Regions from separate parts of the Homo sapiens genome. Here regions 1 and 2 are each linked to region 3. Evidence: promoter capture Hi-C in human tissues and cell types (Jung and others, 2019). All regions are on one chromosome and are shown on one strand. The core of a region is centred on a gene start or on the middle of the fragment in contact, and the rest is flanking DNA. Distances in the headings are between cores, read along the strand shown.

The links. Contacts are between HindIII fragments. The study calls those that stand out against the background at their distance.
Region 1: the fragment with the promoter of ADAT3 here is called in contact with the fragment with the promoter of TLE2 in region 3 in 1 of the 25 tissues and cell types used here (dorsolateral prefrontal cortex).
Region 2: a contact is called between the fragment with the promoter of DPP9 here and the fragment with the promoter of TLE2 in region 3, in 1 of the 25 tissues and cell types used here (spleen).

The regions. Positions count from the first base shown.
Region 1 is chr19:1,903,888-1,906,806 of GRCh38, forward strand. ADAT3 (adenosine deaminase tRNA specific 3) reads left to right here and starts at 1,512. Exons shown (of 2, transcript NM_138422.4): 1 at 1,512-1,552. SCAMP4 (secretory carrier membrane protein 4) reads left to right here and starts at 1,512. Exons shown (of 7, transcript NM_079834.4): 1 at 1,512-1,552. RefSeq lists enhancers at 506-565, 846-905, 1,926-2,015 and silencers at 1,236-1,565, 1,616-1,765. The HindIII fragment of the contact is 31,876 bases long and covers 1-2,919 here.
Region 2 is chr19:4,722,067-4,725,095 of GRCh38, forward strand. It overlaps DPP9 (dipeptidyl peptidase 9), which reads right to left and starts at 1,776. Exons shown (of 22, transcript NM_139159.5): 1 at 1,608-1,776; 2 at 433-485. It overlaps TRG-TCC1-1 (tRNA-Gly (anticodon TCC) 1-1), which reads left to right and starts at 2,004; the gene lies at 2,004-2,075. It overlaps TRV-CAC3-1 (tRNA-Val (anticodon CAC) 3-1), which reads right to left and starts at 2,641; the gene lies at 2,569-2,641. It overlaps LOC105372250 (a long non-coding RNA gene), which reads left to right and starts at 814. Exons shown (of 3, transcript XR_936274.2): 1 at 814-920; 2 at 2,554-2,643. RefSeq lists silencers at 1,577-1,726, 1,957-2,046, 2,497-2,696. The HindIII fragment of the contact is 28,361 bases long and covers 1-3,029 here.
Region 3 is chr19:3,027,543-3,030,624 of GRCh38, forward strand. It overlaps TLE2 (TLE family member 2, transcriptional corepressor), which reads right to left and starts at 1,738. Exons shown (of 20, transcript NM_003260.5): 1 at 1,339-1,738; 2 at 1,164-1,261; 3 at 777-840; 4 at 287-331. The coding sequence starts at 1,362. The HindIII fragment of the contact is 30,131 bases long and covers 1-3,082 here.

The DNA.
Region 1 (2,919 bases), core at 262-2,761, 1.1 Mb before region 3:
CACGTCCTCCCCTTTCTCACCATAAACTCCCTCACACTCTGCAGGTTTACCTAACTGTATGCATCTAATTATGTGATTACCTAAAAGTTCCAGGAACAGGCTGGGCACGGTGGCTCACGCCTGTAATCTCAGCACTTTGGGAGGCCGAGGCGGGCAGATCACCTGAAGTCAGGAGTTTGAGACCAGCCTGACCAACATGGAGAAACCCCATCTCTATTAAAAATACAAAATTAGCCAGGTGTGGTGGCGTGTGCCTGTAATCCCAGCTACTCGGGAGGCTGAGGCAGGAGAATCACTTGAATCTGGGAGGTGGAGGTTGCGGTGAGCTGAGATCGTGCTGCTGCACTCCAGCCTCGGTGACAAGAGCGAGACTGTCTCGAAAAAAAAGAAAAAAGAAAGAACGTTTTAGAGCTAATCTGGAGACAGGCCAAGCACGGAGACCCACCTGCAAAATCCCAGAGATTTCCTCAAGGTGGTCTGCAACCCGGCCCTTATTAGGATGAGGCCAGCCTGCGCTTTTAAGCCACCAAAATTCATGAACACACAGAGCTTATAATCAGCACCTCCCCTGCACACCCACCATTCCCAGTTCCCCTTTTTTAGCCCCTCACCCCAGCCTCAAGTTTGAAGGGGTTTCTGGAGGCCTAAACCAGCTGCCTCCCTGCTGCGAACTCTGAAAGGAAGTCACCTTCCTTTCACTGCACTTTTTCCTCCTTACTGGTTTGTCAAGACTCTGGCATCGGAGCCTGAGCTGGTTACAGCCAGGCACTGTCAAGCTGTTGGGGGAGGGGATGACAAATTCCCTCCCGTTGAGAACCACTTGGTTAAACCTGTCCAACTGGAAGGAGTAACAAATTGCTCATAAAATATGCATGTTTTGGTGAAACCCCTTCTCTACTAAAAGTACAAAAACTAGCCAGAAATCGCTTGAACCCAGGAGGTGGAGGTTGCAGTGAGCCTAGCACTGCACTCCAGCCTGGGTGACAGACTGAGGCTACGTCTCAAAAAAAAAAAAAAAAATGTGCTTGTTTGGCCCAGGAGAGGCAAGAGGTCTTCTTCACCTACGTTACTGGTGAGAAAACTCAAACCTGAGGGCGGCCCACGCCGGAGTGCAGTAACAGGCAGAACTGGAACCTGGCCCCATCCCGGACTCAGGGGACGGGTGTCATATACCCCCTCTGCCTCATCCTTCCCACTCTGCTAACCTTCCAAAGATCCCCCGGGTTCCGAGTTTTCCCTGGCCGCTTGATGGGATTCGAACCTGCAAACTCAGCGCTCGCCCAGCGCAGCGGCCCCGCCTCTCCTCCCCTCCCGCCGCCCGGAGGTCATGTGAGCGCAGTGCCGGAGCGGGGCGGGGCGAGGCGGCGGCGCGCAGTGCCTACTAGCAATTGTAGTCCTTGCCCCACCTTGGCCTGGCGAAGATCCCGCCCCTGGAACTACGCTCCCGTCGTGCTCCGCGGCTCCAGGCGGAGACGAGGCGGGGTGAGGTGGGTTGGGCCGGGCCGGTTGCTAAGACTTGGCGAAGCGCTGCGCTCGCGCCCGGATCCCTCAGGTAAGCGCGCGGCCCCGAGGTCTCGGGTTCTCCAGGCTCAGACTTCCCCAGAGGGGGAGTAGGGGCTGACATGGGGGGTCTCGGCGGTGAGGGGCGCCGGCCGTTTGTGGGGAGAAAACGGGGGGCCCAGGCCAGCCTCGCGCGCGTCTCGGGCGGGCCGGTGGGCGACGCGGGGAGGCGGCGCGAATGCGCGTGCGCGCGCGCGCGCGGCGCTGGCCTGGGGGAAGCCTCAGGACCGCGCTCCCCCGGGCCTAGCGCCTTTCTGCGCGTGTGCGCCCTTATGGTCGGTGCGGGAGACCCCGTATCCTCCAGCTGCTTCCGGTGGCCCTTCCTCAGGTCATGTCCCGCAGTCCCCTGCCTCTGAACCGCGCTCTCGCGAGTTTCCGTAGCCTTCGCGTCCTTCCTCCCCAGCTCTGATTCGCCTTTATGTGGAGATTCCCCTAGGCCTTGGTACATCCCCAGAATTGACCATCGTTCCTCATCGTTACCTAGAGTATGAGTTTTTCAGGTTTTTGTATCACAGGCCCCCAGTTATCTCCCACACACTACCCCGAGGACCGAGGTTCCCCGCTGTCTTGCAGAGAAGGCCTCCTTGTAGGGTGGCCAGAAACAGAGGATCGACTCCGTGGAAACAAGGACGGCTGGGTGCAGTTCCTCACCCTATAACCCCAGCACTTTGGGAGGCCAAGGCGAGTGGATCACCTGAGGTCCGGAGTTCGAGACCAGCCTGTCTAACATGGTGAAACTCCATCTCTGCCAAAAATACAAAAATTAGCTGGGCGTGGTGTCACGCGCCTGTAAAACCAGCTACTGGGGAGGCCAAGGCAGGAGAATCGCTTGGACTTGGGAGGTGGAGGTTGCAGTGAGCCAAGATGGCACCATTGTACTCCAGGCTGAGCAAGCTAGCAAGACTCACTCTCCAAAAAAAAGAAAAAAAGATTTTTTTTTAATAAGCCAGGCATGGTGACACATGTCTGTGGTCCCAGCTACTTGGGAGGCTGAGGCAGGAGGATTGCTTGAGCCCCGGAGGTTGAGGCTGCAGTGAACTGTGATGGCACTACTGCATTCCAGCCTGGGCAACAGAGCGAGACCCTGTCTCTAAATAAATAAATAAAATACATACGTGTAGCGCCGGCCGTGGTGGCTCACGCCTGTAATCCTAGCACTTTGGGAGGCCAAGGCGGGTGGATCACGAGATCAGGAGATCAAGACCATCCTGGCTAACACGGTGAAACCCTGTCTCTACTAAAAATAAAAAAAAGCCAGGCATGGTGGTGGACGCCTGTGGTCCCGGCTACTCCCAAAGGAGGCTGAGGCAGGAAAATGGTGTGAACTCAGGAGGCAGAGCTTGCAGTGAGCCAGGATCG
Region 2 (3,029 bases), core at 526-3,025, 1.7 Mb after region 3:
CAGTGTCTGATGTAGCACAAACTAAATGACAGCTAGCATTGTCAACTAAACAAGATACTCAAAACCACAGGAAGGGGGAGACTCAAACTAAAGTCCTTTCAGGGCCAGAATCCACACCATTTACTGACCGGGTCAGGCAGTGTAGGTGGATCCAGGCACCCCTCCACCAAATCCTGCTGAAATCAGCACTCTCCCCTTCCTCTCCTCAAAGCCTTCAAAAAGCTCCTTCCAGGGGCAGCTAGAGGGGGACAGGGGTGGAAAGAAAAGCCTCCAGCAGGCGCACAAAAAACTGCAGCCACTGCCCTGCGGAGGACAACCATCCAGGGCCATAGAAAACCATTTCCTGCCCATGTCTATATTCTAGAGCAGGCAAAGGAATCCCACCAGCCCACACCCCAGCCTTCCTGGCTGCCAAACCCCAGCACAACTGACCTTCTAAAGGGTCCAGAGAGCCTCCATTCCAGCTGCAGGCGTGGGACACAGACCTTTATAGGATAAACATGTCATGAATGTGGCAGGTTAATGGAAGCACCGGCCAGCCGTTCAGCCTCCCCCACTCAGGAGCTGCAGACTGTCAGGCCCGATTCTACCTGGCTAGATTCTAGCTCTGCCTTGAAGCCCTGCAGCACTGTCTGCATGCCCTGGACAGAATCTGGGAGAGAAGCCATCCCACGGGCCCCGATTCCCCTGGGACCCAGCAGAGGAATGCAGGGATTGGTGCCTACGGTCCACACCCCCTGGGCTTTAGTCCCAGCTCCTCGAAAGCAGGTTGGTTCTTGCCTGGGAGGCAAGTGACTTCCTCCTGGGGCCCCTGGGGAAGACCAGGGGGTGGGGGCCAAGGGAATAGACCACTTTTGATGGCTCAGAGGCAGCGTGAACAGGGAAGTGTCAGGGCTGGCCTAAGGCTGTGTGGGAAGAAGGTAGGCGGTTGGACAGGCCTGAGAAGGGAGGCTGAGAGAAGGGGGCTGAACCCTGTGGGCTGGACCCTTGGAAGACAGCTATGCTAACCACTACACCACCAACGCCTCGGCAGGAAAAAGAGTCTCTGGATACCCTTAATAGAGGGATCAAGTAGGGTTGAGGATCAGGACTGGATTGGGGAGACCAAGCCTCGGGGCGAAGGTTGGAGGAAGTGGTAAAGGAGTGAGGACAGGATGCAGGTCGAGGGAGGTGGCCTCTGTGCATATACAGCATTTGCATGGGGAGAGGGAGGAGATCGGGACCTCCAGAGCCTGCACGAAAGGGGAGAGGGTGTCAAGGTCTGCAGCTACGAGGACGTTCTTGGGTGCGGCCACCTCCGGAAGGGGTCAGAGCCTGGTGGCCTGGGCAGCAACGGGATGGGTGGGGAAGCCCATCAGGGAAGGGGAGAAACTGGGAGGTGGCCTGGCCAGCGCAGGAATCGGGGAGGGAAAGAAGGTGGAGGAGGGCCTGGGGCGGAGAGGAAACGAGGCAGGGGGCCGGAGGGACCCACAGACGGGTGCATGGAGGCTCCGGGGTGCGGGGAGGCCAGGCGATGGCGAGGGCAGGGTCAGGGCCGAGGCGGGGCCGGTCAATGGCGGGTTCAGGGTCGCGGCCGGGGCGGGACGAGGCGCGCGGGCGCTGCTCACCGGGACGTGGGGCGGCGGCCGGACTGGGCAGGTCGTCCCGGGTCCAGCGGCGCCTCACGGTCGCGGCTCCATGCCCGGGACTGCGACCCCGGAAGTGGCGGGAGCGGGGGACGACAGCCGCGGCGGACACAGGGGACCCGCCGGCTCAGGCACCTTTGACCCGGAAGTTGAGCGACCCAGGCGGCGGCCTGGGATTGGACACCACCAGGCACGTACCAAGGCGTCCGCGGCGCTTGGGGGGGAGCCCGCGGCGCGGCGGCCTAAGGTGCGTAACGCCCCATGAACGACATCTTCCGGTGGGTTAGGGAGAGACACCCCCCTGTGACTTGGTATCACTCAGTCAAACCCATGATCCCCCACTATTAAGGATATCCGGAGAGGATGCTACCTATCAGGGCGTTGGTGGTATAGTGGTTAGCATAGCTGCCTTCCAAGCAGTTGACCCGGGTTCGATTCCCGGCCAACGCATGCGGTACCACTTTTGCGAGTTTGAAATTTTCATTTTAGTTTTGAGACGGAGTCTCGCTCGGTCCCCCAGGCTGGAGTGCAGTGGCGTGATCTCCGCTCACTGCAACCACCACCTCCCAGGTTCAAACGATTCTCCTGCCTCAGCCTCCCAAGTAGCTGTGATTACAAGCGCACGCCACCACGCCCATCTAATTTTTGTATTTTTAGTAGAGATGGGGTGGGGTGGGGCGGGGTGGGGCGGGGTGGGGGGGGGGGGGCGGTTCACCATTTTGGCCAGGCTGGTCTCGAACTCTGACTTCAGGTGATCCGCCCTCTTCGGCCTTTCAAAGTGCTGGGATTACAGGCGTGAGCCATCAATCACGGAAAATTTTTTTAAATCCCATAAAAATGTCTAAAAGGCAGGAGGAAGGCGGAAGAGAAAGAATGGGACTAGAATCGTTCTTTCGGTGAATTTCAAATAGTATTACTCTCCGGTTAGGAAAAACAGCTGACCTGTTTCCGCCCGGGATCGAACCGGGGACCTTTCGCGTGTGAGGCGAATGTGATAACCGCTACACTACGGAAACCGGTAGGCGTCAGGGTTCTTTAAATTCTCCTATAGAGATAATGTTGCAGTGATAGTTGCGTTGTCCCACCAAAGAAACACTGGCTACAGTCAGCTAAAGCAATATCCGCTCTTCCTGAATATCTGTTATTGTATTTGATACAGTAGAGACCGAAAGAAGGAAAATAAGGAAGACAAAAAGAAATCCAATAAACACCCTTTCCAACACACCCACCCACCCACACACATGTTTATCACTTTATCATAAATCCACCTTCCATTAAAACAATGCACGTCAAACGGCCCACAAACCCATCCGGGGTCAAATGAAGCTTTTCATCTCATAGATATCAATCTATACTTGATATCACATTAGTTTCTGCAGATATTCACCATTTTGCTTTAGATCA
Region 3 (3,082 bases), core at 488-2,987:
CCTCCTTGATGGGGATGCCTGGTGGCCCCTGCCCACTGCCTGCATCTCTGCTGGACGCTCCAACTGCTAGATACTGTCTTCAGAAGGTGGGACTCATTTTCCTTCCACGAGGCTGAAATCTGTCTTCCTGGTCCCAGATGGGCCCTCTGTGACCTCTGCGGAGATTTCAGGATGAGACCCGTGTTCCCTAGGTCTGCTCTGGCCCCGGCTGCCCACTCTGGGTCCTTCTCAGGGCTTCCAGACCCCCACCCTCCCTCCTGAACACGCGTAACCCCAACCCAGTTACCTGCTTATGCATTTCAATGTTGAGCCCGTACGACATCTCATAATACTGCAAAGGAAAAACCAAGTAAGAACGTCTAGGGTGGAGATGGGTGCCCTCCTCCAGATAGGTGATGCCAGGGTCTTCCAAGAGTCCCCAGGTTCAGGGGAATCACAGCAGGAAGCAGAGCCCCCCCCAGCTCCACGGGGTCCCAGAGGAGGAAGCGGGGGCTCTGCCTGGAAGGGCCCCCTCTACTCTCCCCAGAGAGGCAGGGCAGGTAGGAAGTGTCCAGAGGCCCTGGCCCGACAGAGACTCCCATCAGGCGAGGGGTCCTCCCTGTCTCCCCATTCCCAGAGCTGGGAGGACCCTCCTAGAGAGCCTGAAATCCCAACCTGCCCAATGTACAGACGGGGAAGACGAGGTTCGGAGTGGGGCAGGGACCTACCCCAGAGTCCACCGTGACTCAAAGCCCTGCCCGCCTCTCCCCTCACCCTGGCATCATAAGTGCCCTCACCATGACATAATGTCGCTGCATTTCCGTCTTCTCGCTGGCCAGCTTCTCACATTCTAGCTTGAGGCTGAGAAGAAGAGAGAGGGCAAGGGGCTCCCACCCGCCCCATGTGGGCCGGCTTCCAAAGTGAGAGGCTGGATCTCCCCCTCCCGACTTCCTTACAGACCTCCCCCCACCTCCTGTCCCAGTCCCTCCCCGCCCCTTCCTGGGCTCCAAATGCCCCAGCTCTGACTGTCCCCAGACCCCTCTGCACCTGCGCTTCCACCTGGAGGCCTTTGTCGCGCCCCCCCTCCAACCGGGAGCCCCTCCTCCCCGCCCTATACCCCGGAGGCCTCGCCCCGCCCCGGCGCCCAGGTGAACTCCCGCGGCCCCTGGGGCGGCCCCCCTCACCTGTGGTATTGAGCCTGAAGAAACTGGAATTCTTCTTTGATGCGGTCGCAGATCTCCAAGATCGAGAACTTGAAGGGCTGGCCGGACTGGAGCGGGGTCTGGGGGGGGTGTGGGGGAAACGTCAGGGTCTGAGTTCCCGGACACTGGGGGCCCCCTCCCCGCAGTCCGCACTCACCGGGTGCCTTCCCTGGGGGTACATCCTGCCGATCCGAAAAGCCCCCCAGGCGCCACCAGAGCTTGATGATATGGAGGCGGCAAGAGTGGGGGAGGCTGAAGTGGGGTGGTGGGGAGGCTGCCCGAAGAAAGAGGGAGGAGGGAGAAGCGGCGCGGGGCAAGGGACCCTGGAGTCCCTGGCGCGCCCCCAAGCGCGCGCGCCCGGGGTCGTGGGAGCCCCTCCCCGGGTTGGGGTGCGCGGGGCGAGCGGGGCGGGCAGGGGCAGCGGCCGGGGCGGGAGCGCGGCGAGGGCGGCCGCGGCAGCCGGCGCAGAAGGTCGGGCGCGCCGCGGCCGGGTTTCGGTGGCGGCGGCGCGGGCGGCGGGCCCCGCGCGGAGCCGCCTCCCTCCGGCGGGGCTCGGCCGGGAGCCGCGGGCTGAGCCGCCTTAAGGTGGCGCCGCCGCCCCCACGCGCCCGCGGCCCGCCCCGCGCCCACCCCCGCGCACCGCCCCTCCCCGCGCCCGCGCCCCCCCCGGCCCCCGGGCACCCGCCCCCTTCCTTCAGTCCCTGGGCCGTTGGGGAAACTGAGGCCGGGTGGGGAGGCGCCCAGTGCCTTAAAACAGGGTCCCCACCCCCTCCCGGAGGGGCGGGAGAAGAAAAACCAGTGAAGAAATTCACACCGTGTTACCCACCGTGGGAGCGGGGGGGGGGGCTTGCGGGGAGCGGGGACCAGTCTGGAGTCGGAAATGGCTTTTCTGAGCAAGTGACATTGGGTTGAGATTGAAGGGTCAGCAGGACGCAGCCTTGCCAAGCGCTGGCAGGGAACCCTGCCAGAAAGGGAATCTCACAGCAAACACTGCTTCCCAGATCATGCCGGGCCCTCGCCCTCTGGGGGCCTCAGTAGTCTCTGCAAAAGGTCAGGGGTGGTGCGCTATCTTTAGGGTTTAATTTTTTGCAGAGATAGGGTCTCCCTGTGTTGCCCAGGCTGGAGTACAGTGGGGCAATCATGGCTCACTGCAGCCTCGAACTCCTGGGCTCAAGCGATCCTTCCCCCTCAGCTTCTCCAGTAGCTGGGACTACAGGTGTGCACCACCACGCCCAGCTAATTTTTTAATTTTTTGCAGAGATGGAGTAGGGGGGCGTCTCACTATGTTGCCCAGGCTGGTCTTGAACTCCTGGACTCAAGCCTCTCTCTTCGGCCTTCCAAAGTGCTGGGATTACGGGCGGGAGCCACCGCACTGGGCACTGCACTTAAATGAGATAGTGCATGAACGCTGTCAGCCTCTCCCTACACAGAGCAAACTTCCACAGATGGGAATTGTGTTCCTACTGCCATCACCAGTGGACTGGGCTGTCTCCCCTCTCAGACTGGGTTTCTTGAAGGCAGGAGCCGTGTCCCACTCAGAACTGGAAGAACCACAGCTCTGCCATCAGACTCAAGTCTCTCCCACGGCAAAGGCTCCAGCCCCGACCAGAGACCACAGACATCCAGCCAGCATCCTTCAGGCCCACCCGGGGAGTGGGAAGTTCTTATTCTCTTTGGAGAAACCTCAGGAGAGGTTTGTGAAGTCAATCAACAAACGTGTACTAAATGCATACTGTGGACCACACACTGCTGTAGACACTGGGGCACAGCTGGGAACAAAACAGAGAAAAATCCATGCCCCTTGATGACACTTGGACTTGTGTCCTTAGGTGATCGAGTACCTAATGGTACCTAAGGGTTAGGGTTACAAAAACCCATTTTGTACCCTTACAAAAGGGCAC